3 separate regions of the Homo sapiens genome follow, and all the other regions are linked to region 1. Evidence: promoter capture Hi-C in human tissues and cell types (Jung and others, 2019). All regions are on one chromosome and are shown on one strand. Each heading gives the region's core, a stretch centred on a gene start or on the middle of the fragment in contact. The rest is flanking DNA. Distances are from core to core; before and after follow the strand shown.

Region 1 (3,378 bases), core at 337-2,836:
GAGAAACAGACTAATCTAACAATTGGATAAGTAGCCCTAGAATAACGAAGAAGGCCTAATTAAAACTTCAAAAGCCTTATAACAGGTGATTCTAACCAGTCATAAAACTGTCACCTCCCTGGGTGGTAAAAAAAAAAAAAAAAAAAACACTTAAAAACTCATTTTATTATTTAAGTTAATTAAAGATACAAAGTATACGAAACAGCCATTACTATGCCTGACCCAAGATGTGTCACTAAAATAGTAACTATAGAAATGTTTAGAGGGGAGAATTTTTAGAATAATTTTCTGGAAAGACTACAAGACTGGGAGATTGTTAATAGTTCCTAATTCCTTGGAGTGTAGATTATTTTTATAATCCTTAAAGCATAAATAAGGAGAAGTGAATTAACAGTAGACTCTCAGAGCTGTGAAAGCCACGCACTTACTCTAGGATGAATGCTTCATTAATTTTTCACACAGTGTGATGATGTTGCAATTTTCCATGAGCAACTATCAGAGCTTTCCTTCTTGATAAGTATCAAAACAGCCGAAATTACATCGAATACTCGTGCCTGTCATTGGCCGAAATATAATTTCAATACTAGGATGTACCTAGTATTTCCAGACTCACACCCTGGCCTGGGTAACGTTACGATTACATTGTATCCACCCTGCCTAATGTCAGTATGTTTCACACAGTCACCCATTTCACCCTTCCTCTGGCTAAAGAGTTTTCCTCCTTCTGTAGACCTCTCCCCAGTGGATTTTACCTTAAATTCCACTCCCATTCCAACACCCAAGAGGCTAGATCTGTCTCCTCTACCCACACGCGGGGGCATGTCTAGATCCCCGTGATGCTGAAAAAGATGTCTCATTTGCACAGACATCAGAACCCGAGTGGGCGCGCGGCGGGCCCTGCGGTCGCCGGCGCTGATAGTCAGATGCTTTGTCTCCTGCCTGGGAAGGCCGGAGCTGCATGGACACGTATGACAGACATTCTAGAACTAATAAAAAAGAACACCACAGCCCCGCGCACAGGCAGCTCCTCCCGGACAGGCGATAGCCCAAGGCGGCCAGACCTGAGGTGACTGATCCCGCGAGGGGACGGAGGGGAGTGACGAGGGCTTTTCCCCCAGAGAAGTCAAGACGCCCCCCAGGGACCCGGCGCCGCGCAGCCGCCAGCCACCTGCAAACACAGACGGCGTGAGGGCGGCGCAGTCGCCCTGCCAGCACCCGGCCGCGCGTGCCAGGCCAGCGGGGACTCACTGCCTCAGTTTCCTCAGCCGCAGAACCCGGCCGGGACGCCCCTCAGGTCGCTCCACCCCGGTAGCCGGTGCTCCGCGCCACAGCCAGGTCCTTGCCGCGCCCTCAACCCGCCGCCCGCCGCCCGCCGCCGGCAGACTGTCCTCACCTGACAGCCACCCGCACGGAGCTCTCGTCCGGGGCGCCCAACATGCTGGCGGCGGGCAGCGATCGAGCCGTTGGGCCTCGGCACCGCAGAGCTGAGGCGCCACTGGGGCCGCGGGACTCGGGCGCAGTAGGCTGGGGCGTCTGCGGGCGGGCGGCCGGCTCACCTCCGCCGCGCTCCAGCCATGTTGGGCGACTGAATGGAAAGGTGGCGGCGGCGCTGAGGCAGCAAGAGGAGGAGGTGATTCACGGCTCGCGGGCGCCCGCCCCTTCTCCACCGCTCACCCCCCAGGATCTGGGGCGGGGACAAAGCGCGCTTGAACGGCGAGCGCGCCTGTGGAGAAGCCAACAGGCCGCCAGCGGCCTCAGGGCGGCCGGGTGAGTGCGCCCTGCCCCCTCCGGTGGGGACGCGGCCTCCCAGCGGCCAGGCTGGGGACTCCACGCCCGCCAGGGCGCTCCGGGCTCCTCGCCCCGCACTGCGTCAGCCGCCGCCGCGCGGCTCAGCCCCACCTCGCCCTCCCCCAGCCTGCGCCCCGCCCTGCCCTCGTCGGGACACTGCCTGGCGCTGCTGGGCAGGGAGGCGAGGGGGAGGGATGCCTGCCGCCGGCTGCCCTCGCCCGAGGGCGACCAGCCTGTGCGCCCTTCCAGGCTCTTCTGGGAGAAGGAAGCAGCTAGTGCACGCGCTGCTGCCAGGTCCCTTCTCAAATCGAAGCTTGATTCAGCGGCGCGCCGGGAGCCAGGCAGCTGCTGCTGCGGTTCGGCTTTGTGTCCCACGCATAGCCTTATTGTCCTCTCTGCAGCTTGGACTTTGACCCCCTTCCCTAGCCCCCAGCTGAACGCCCTCCCTCCTCCCTCCCCGGAGTCAGTCATTCATGCTAAACGGACTCCCAGGTTTGTCCACTGTCTCTGGACAGCTGGGCTGTTCTACAGTTCATCGCCCGTTTACCAGCTCGGGTGGGATATGGAAATGATTTATTCGAGACTCCTGAATGCTTTTCTGTTCAATCATTTGTACACTGGTAAATGAACTGCACCCTGGTACTGCCAAGTGTTCCCAGAACTGAATATATCCACCAAGACCTGCTGTGTAGTAAATCCTTCCAAACTGATTTTCTTTCCCTTCTGGCCTTTAAAAAGCACCTCCCAATCCCAGGATTCTCTCAACATTGACCCATTGTGGTTTCTGTTTGTCACTATTGTGCTTCCACATGCCTTCAGATAGCTCTGTGGAAACAGCCTTTATTAGCTTTGCCACAGAGTATCTTTTGTGGACTGCTCCATACATCTCTATAAACAAACATGTGGCTTCATACGAAATAGTATCACAAATTAAATGGCACTATCCAAATAAAGGCACTACCTCAAATGCCTGCAATCTACAATCACATACCTAATCATCTTGTTCAGCAGTGATACAGCAGTGTGGCTCAGAGAAGGCTGCAACACTATGGGAAAAACAAGAAGTGTTTGATGATTTAAACCCATGGGAAGGCCGATGGGGTATATAATTATAGATAGTTTTAAATTTATTCTGTCCCTTAATCTCACTACCCCTAAATCTTAACAGACATGTAACTGGGAGGTAAAGAGGGCAGAGATGCTGAGTATCCTTCTATAGATCAAATTGGTGGGAAAGCTCTCCTCTGGCTACTCTTTGGAGGGCCTTTCCTAGCCTCAAAATTTATCCATCAACAAATCAGAGCTGCATTTCACCCTGCCCTGGCAAGCCCATATCTGGGTGGATCTGGGCTGGCCACCTTGCTTCTTTTGTTGATGAAAGCTGCAAGGAAAGCAAGAATGGCCCAGCACATTTAACAAGAAAACTAAAGAGAAATTTGTATAATTAAGACCCTCTTTTTAAAAAAAGTTCTTTTTTATTTTATTTTATTTTGAGACAAAGTCTTGCTCTGTCACCAGGCTGGAGTGCAGTGGCGTGATCTCGGCTCACTGTAACCTCTGCCTCCCGGGTTCAAGCGATTCTTCTGCCTC
Region 2 (3,378 bases), core at 586-3,085, 150 kb after region 1:
CACTTTTCTGCATTAACATCTAAGTAATCTGACAGTGATTTTTTTTTTTTGGTAAAATGTATTGATGTTTGTTAGAGTTACTTTTTTATTATTCTCTAAGACAAAGCTAGAAAGAATGGGAAAGCACTGAGAAGTGTTAGCTGTATCTATGTGCTTGGAGCTTCTGAATGACACAAAATTCTAAATATTTCCTAAATTGAGAGCAAAAAACCAATTCAAATCCAGAGGAGAAAAAAAAGTGTGACATGAAAGGCCTATATGCAGAGAAAACAAATTTTTAAAGTAATCATATAAAATTTAATTGGAACAATATTGATAAAAATTTTGCAGCAATGTTAACTGTATTTAAGGCATGAGATGTGTTAAGTTTAAGAATAATGTACCACTAAGTACTGCTGTGTTGTCGTAGCAAAAGAAGTTAACAATCTGAAAGGCATAAAATTTAACTATCAATAATTCACATAACTATACATGCTGGAACCAATCATTGCATCAGGGTTTTTCATGCATAGAAAGAACTAGATTTGAGTCATTTATAGTATTCTTAAAAAATGTGTGATAATAAGAAGAAATATTCAAGTGAAAATAGATATTTACTATTACTGAAATTATATCTTTTGGATAAGATATTTCTAGATTCCAAAACAGAGATGAGAATAGCCTCTTAAGAGCAGGGATGAGGTTTATTTCCAAGTAATAAAAATAATATTAGGCCAGGTGCAGTGGCTCGCATCTGTAATCCCCGTAATTTGGGAGGCCAAGCTGGGTGAATCACCTGAGGTCAGAAGTTTGAGACCAGCCTGCTCAACATGGTGAAACCCCATCTCTACTAAAAATGCAAAAATTAGCCAGGTGTGGTGGCACACACCTGTAATCCCAGCTACTTGGGAGGCTGAGGCACAAGAATCTCTTGAACCCTGGAGACAGAGGTTGCAGTGAGCCAAGATTGTGTCACTGAACTCCAGCCTGGGCAATAGAGTGAGACACTGTCTCAATAAGTAAATAAATAAATATATTATTAGTGGAAGAATTAAAGTATTGCTAAGCTGTTAAAAATGCAAATTTCTGTAAAAGTCAACTTTAAGAGTATTTATCATTATATCAGATTACCATTTAAATTGCTGATATTTGACCTATAAAAATTGCAGTTCCATATGGTTTAATGTAATAGTACTCATAAAATGAGAAAAACTTTTGAGTGAGAGGGGAGTTTTTTCATTATTACTTTTATAAATGAGCCCTTAGAAAAGTTAAAGATTTTAAAAAGTATCTTTAGCATTCTTCCAAGCCATAGAAAGCTATAGAAAATTGTGTTTACATTTATAGATCTCTTTAAAAGAGATTTAAAAAAACTGAACTGTACCAACTACTACACAGGAGGAACTAAAATGTACAACTTCTATTTCTGTCAACTGACTGCCCAAAGGTATTTATACAAAGATTACTTGGCTGTAAGTCTAACAGTCAGAAAGCAAGGAATAGAAGTCAATTTGCTACAGCAATGCTACTAAGCCTTCCTTGTGGTTAAAATAATTTTCTAAAAAAGGACATGTTAAATGACAGATATTTATCCCCATCATAAAGAGAATTTTGCAACATACCTACTGCAAGCAGCAAAATAAATAGATTGCTCATAATTAGTGTAAGGTACCAGATTGACTTGGCAGTAGAAACCAAATCTGTGGAGATGTTCATTCATTCAGTCAATCACTTATCAGATATTTATTGCACAATTACAATATATTTACTAGGATCCTACCAGTGCTGTACAGAGACATGTGGTTGCCTTTTCTAGCTTTTAATCTATAAAAGTTTGTTCAACAGTGACTCAACAAGGGCAAAGTCTGTTCCAGTACAACCCCTACTCCCAAAGCCATATTTCTTTGCTTTGAGGGCAGCAGGACAATAGATATGTAACCTACATACACATTGGCACAGTACATAGGTATAGAGTTCTGTGAGGAGCTCTGGATTAAGCCACATCACATTCCTCCTTTATTCCAGTGGCTTTTATAGACCCATATTCCACTCAGGCAGTGGCCTGCTAGTCTGCCTCTTTCTTAAATAAACACACTCCTTGTCCTCAAGAGGTGCACCCTGTTTGCCTTTTGGCAGCTAGATATTCATTAAGAATTGACAGGTCCAAAAGCTAGAGACCTATAGGAAAATTGAGATTAAGATATTTAAAACAGCATACCCCAGATTCTTGCTTAGATCCTTTTCCAGACCACATCCTCATTTTTAAAATCTGAGATCTTGGATAAAAAGAAAAAAAGCAAGGATCTCACTGAGAATACTTTAACAGCACCCTTTCTGTCCTCCATAGAGAAAAGAGGCAAATCAGTTCTTCTGACCTGATCTCATATGCTTTCTAGTTAATAGCCATCATCTGGTTTTATATGTGTGGGTTAAACAATGTTGATATATAACACAGAGTTCCCTGATCCCTACAAAGAAGAAATCTTAGATTTGGAAGTCATTCATATAGAAACAATAGAAAATGGAACTTCACAGCTTTTATTTTTTTGTTTTATTTTTATTTTTATTCTTTTGAGATAGCATCTCACTCTGTTGCCCAGGCCAGAGTGCAGTGGTGCAATCATGGCTCACTGCAGCCTCAACTTCCCAGACTCAAGCAGCCCTCCCACCTCAGCCTCTTAAGTAGCTGGGACTACAGGCAAGTACCACCATATCCAGCTACTTTTTTATTATTTGTATTGACGGGGTCCCCCTATGTTGCCAGGGCTAACCTTAAATTCCTGGCCTCAAGTGATTATCCAACCTCAGCCTCCTAAAGTGCTGGGATTACAGTCATGAGCCACCAGGCCCAGCCCAGAACTTCATATTTTAAAATATCCATAAAGCTTATTTGGTGCAAGTACTTCTTAGTGCACAGGGCAGTTGTGCCAATGTTGGTATTATCGTCCTTCAAGCCCTTTCTGCAGAACTTCTGAAATAAAACACCGTCTTCACTGTTGCAAGCGACAATCTCTTCTTTTGATGACATAAAGGGTAAGTCATGATCTTTTTAAGCCATAATGCATCCTGAAAATTAAGGTTTGCTTGTTTTATATCTCAACAAGAATTCTGATTTAAAATTAAGGGACTATTTTTGAAAAATTCTTTAAAATTTTATGGAGAAATGAATTTTAGAAGAATAGGAAAGAGTAGAGAATAAAATTTAATTTGAAAATGAATTGAACACCAATAAATTTTTTAAAATTTCACTTTCATATGAGAATATAGCTTCCTTCACCTTAACATATCTGAATGATGGCCAAGTACCTATGCTAAAATGTATGTTAAAATTGACTTAATTGCCATGTACATCGAGGATTATGAGGACCTCTGCCTCCAAACCACAGCTTGATATTAGTA
Region 3 (3,378 bases), core at 462-2,961, 130 kb before region 1:
AAAACTCTTAGTCTATAACTCTTCAAAGCATTTATAGCTGGTTTCCAGTTACTTGCAATTGTACAAAAGGGGTTAAGAGTGCAGGATTGAAGAAGGGTATACCTAGGTTTCTAATCCTTGTTCTTCCACTTACTAGCTAAATTTACCTGAGAAAAGTATTTATTCACTTGAATCCTGAGTTTCTTTGTTTACAAAATGAGGATGCAACATGTATCTCATTGAGATTGTTGTGAGAATTAGGTGAGATATATTAGTATACTGCCTAGCATAGCCCCTGATATGTAGTAAGTGTTGCAGAAATAGTGGTTGCTATGCATCTTATTCTCTTTCCCATATTGTATATTTAAATAGCCTTTTATAGATTTTTATATAACCTGCATTTCAAAATTCAGGACTCTACATGCAGTACATGCCCAAATACTGTAGAGAGATGTATTCTGTCACCATTGTATTCACAAAACATCAACAGAGGTTTTACTTGCTGCTCAACTATGCAATAATTTTATATATTTTACATTCAGGGGTTGAACCAGATTATCCGATTCTTTCTGGTCTTAAATAGTTTGACAGTTTTCTAGAATATGTTAAAAATGTAATTTTTTTTAAAAAAAAAGCTATTAAATATCTGCATTAGATAACTACTAGCACCTTTTGATCCAGTGAAGAGGAGATCATCAGTAGAATCCACACAGAGCACAGCTTTTGTATGCCCTTCAGCTATGTGAATACACTGAAGTGGAAAAGCTCTGATTCCTTTTGAAGCAGGAAATGGGTTGATTATGCCCCTAAGGTGGGGAAAAAACAAACAAACCAAGACTCACTTCAGTATCATGAGACTATATCATGAGACTAGTTTTGTTTTTTTCCCCTAACTTTAAGAAGTCTTTATAAGTAATTAGTAATAAAATCCAGACTGCTCTCTTTTAAGCAAAAGGACAAAGTGTGAAATAATAATAGTGATGGAGTATATCAACTAATCAGGCATCTGCTAACAGCTGCATTCTGCAAAGAGCAAAGACTATAATACATCTAGATTTTCTTATTAATAATTTCATCTCTCCAAGGTTTAACGAAGCCACAATGGGAATTATTTGAGTGTACTGAATTCTGACAAATAAGGAAGGAGCAGAAATGACAAATAACAGGAAAACATAATTCTATGTCAAACTGGTGTGTAAAGGAACATGCTGGAGAAAGTGTAATATATATGCCACCTAAAATACTAAGAAAGCAGATTTCAAACAAAAATTGAAGATAGGAATAATTGAATGAAAAGAAATTCTAAAGGGACAATGGGTTAAAAAGATCAAAAACTTAAAGAACTGACAATCTCAAAGAAAATTTTAAAAGAATGAGAATTTAAAATAACAGTGAATGGATAAAGAAAATGTACATACACACAATGGAGTACTATTTAGCCATAAAAAAAGAAAGAGATCATATCATTTGCAACAACATAGATAGAACTGGAGATCATTATGTTAAGTAAAATAAGCCAGGCACAGAAAGAGAAACATTGGATATTCTCACTTATTTATGGGATCTAAAAATCAAACAACTGAACTCATGGACATAGAGAGTAGAAGGACGGTTACCAGAGGCTAGGTAGGGCAGTGGGGGTTGGGAGAGGTGGGGATGTTTAATGGGTACAAAAATAATAGAAAGAATAAAGTAAGACCTACTATTTGATAGCCCAACAGGGTGACTATAGTTGATAATAATTGTACATTTTAAAACTACTAAAAGAGTATAATTGGATTGTTTGCAACACAAAGGATAATTGCTTGAGGGGATGGCTACCCCATTCTCCATGATATGATTATTGTGCATTGCATGCCTGTATCCAAACATCTCATGTACTCCATAAATATATATCTACTATGTACCTGCAAAAATTTAAAATAAAAAAATTAAAAACAATGAAGCTCTTTAGGGAGCTTTCTCATAAATTTGATATTTTTGTAGTTTCTGCTTTATGGCACTGGGCTATGTACTATGGAAATATAAAGATTATCAAAACATTGTCCCTCTCCCAAAGGAATTTAAGATAGGGTCTGAATTAAAATAATGGTGTTGGGGAGGCTAAAGATGATAATGAATTAAGACATGACAAACAGTCAAATGTACCTTCACTCAAAGCATTATATGCTTCAAATTATGTTGAATTATGTCCATTATGTAAGACAAATGGCATATTAGGACAAATATAAGGATAAAGGAAAACTGTTTTGTTTCCATCTTCTTAATGAAAGAGAATAATCTTCGAGATGCAAGAGGGCAGAAATGATTAAGAAACGTGAGCCCCAGATAAGTTAGAGCTGACAATGGAGATTTATTCAATAAATTCAAGTATTTCTGTTTTTAAATCATTATATCATAGGGTTTTGAAAGTATATGCCATTGTGTAAGCAAAATCCTTGTCAGTGCTCTAAGAAATCACAAAGATCAAAAAAAGGGACAAAACATGTAGACCTGATCTTCCAAAATGCAGGAAAAACGTGGAATTCAGAAACTCAACTTCTCGTTGAGTCTCAAAGAGGAATACATTAAGCAAATCATTATCCACTTAAAAATAAATGTTCACCAACAAAAGATAACATGGGCTTATCAATTTCATGGGGAAAGTTTTTTGTAGGGTTAATGGATACCAATTTAAGGGAATGTCACATTCACAATATATGTTGACTCTAATAAAGCCCATACAATAAGACTTTTAAATGATATCCTTGTGGACAATGTGAATAAGTATGGAACTGTTAGAGTAAAGTATTTCCACAGGTAGTTGAAGAGTCATACCTAACGAGTCAAGGTCACTGCTGATCTGGAAGATCTTTGGTATCTAGTCAATCTTTACCTAGCCCTAGGGAGAAGTGGCATGCTTATTAAATGGATATATTAAAGAACTGGACATTATATTGCCTGAAAAAAATCACTGAAACAAAATTCATTTATTTTATATGCCGACTCACTATCAATGATTTGTTTAATAGAAATAAATATTTCAGGAGAAAGACAGCGATAGACTTACTGCATTCTATGTAGGCCATATATGGAATGAGGTGTAGTTTTAGATGTCCCATTTTAAGAAGAACATTGAAAAATTGGAGCCTTTACAAAACAGTAGAAGCAGAATGAAGGATCTGTAGACTATATTACATAAGGAACAGATGATGAAACTATTGAGCTGATAAAAGAACATTTACCGGAGAGAGGATACAACAGCATAATTTAAAAGGGCTGAATATATGAAGAGCTGTCATATATAAACAAAAAGATATATAAAATTAATTCTGGTAAGGGAAAAAAAGGGCTGATGAAGACTAACGAATGGAAATTTAAAGGAGGTAAATTTAGAGTTGGGGAGAAAAAAACATTTAT

The links. Contacts are between HindIII fragments. The study calls those that stand out against the background at their distance.
Region 2: a fragment that was not itself captured here is called in contact with the fragment with the promoter of KIF21A in region 1 in 1 of the 25 tissues and cell types used here (pancreas).
Region 3: a contact is called between a fragment that was not itself captured here and the fragment with the promoter of KIF21A in region 1, in 1 of the 25 tissues and cell types used here (lymphoblastoid cells).

Annotation. Positions count from the first base shown.
Region 1 is chr12:39,441,534-39,444,911 of GRCh38, forward strand. It overlaps KIF21A (kinesin family member 21A), which reads right to left and starts at 1,587. Exons shown (of 38, transcript NM_001173464.2): 1 at 1,394-1,587. The coding sequence starts at 1,437. RefSeq lists enhancers at 528-597, 1,416-1,916, 2,198-2,257 and a silencer at 1,218-2,117. The HindIII fragment of the contact is 12,215 bases long and covers 1-3,378 here.
Region 2 is chr12:39,590,719-39,594,096 of GRCh38, forward strand. All of the region lies in intron 6 of ABCD2 (ATP binding cassette subfamily D member 2), which reads right to left. Among named protein-coding and RNA genes, the nearest start is that of ABCD2, 27 kb to the right of the region's middle. The HindIII fragment of the contact is 6,479 bases long and covers 1-3,378 here.
Region 3 is chr12:39,310,769-39,314,146 of GRCh38, forward strand. KIF21A (kinesin family member 21A) reads right to left here. Exons shown (of 38, transcript NM_001173464.2): 32 at 649-785. Among named protein-coding and RNA genes, the nearest start is that of KIF21A, 130 kb to the right of the region's middle. The HindIII fragment of the contact is 8,015 bases long and covers 1-3,378 here.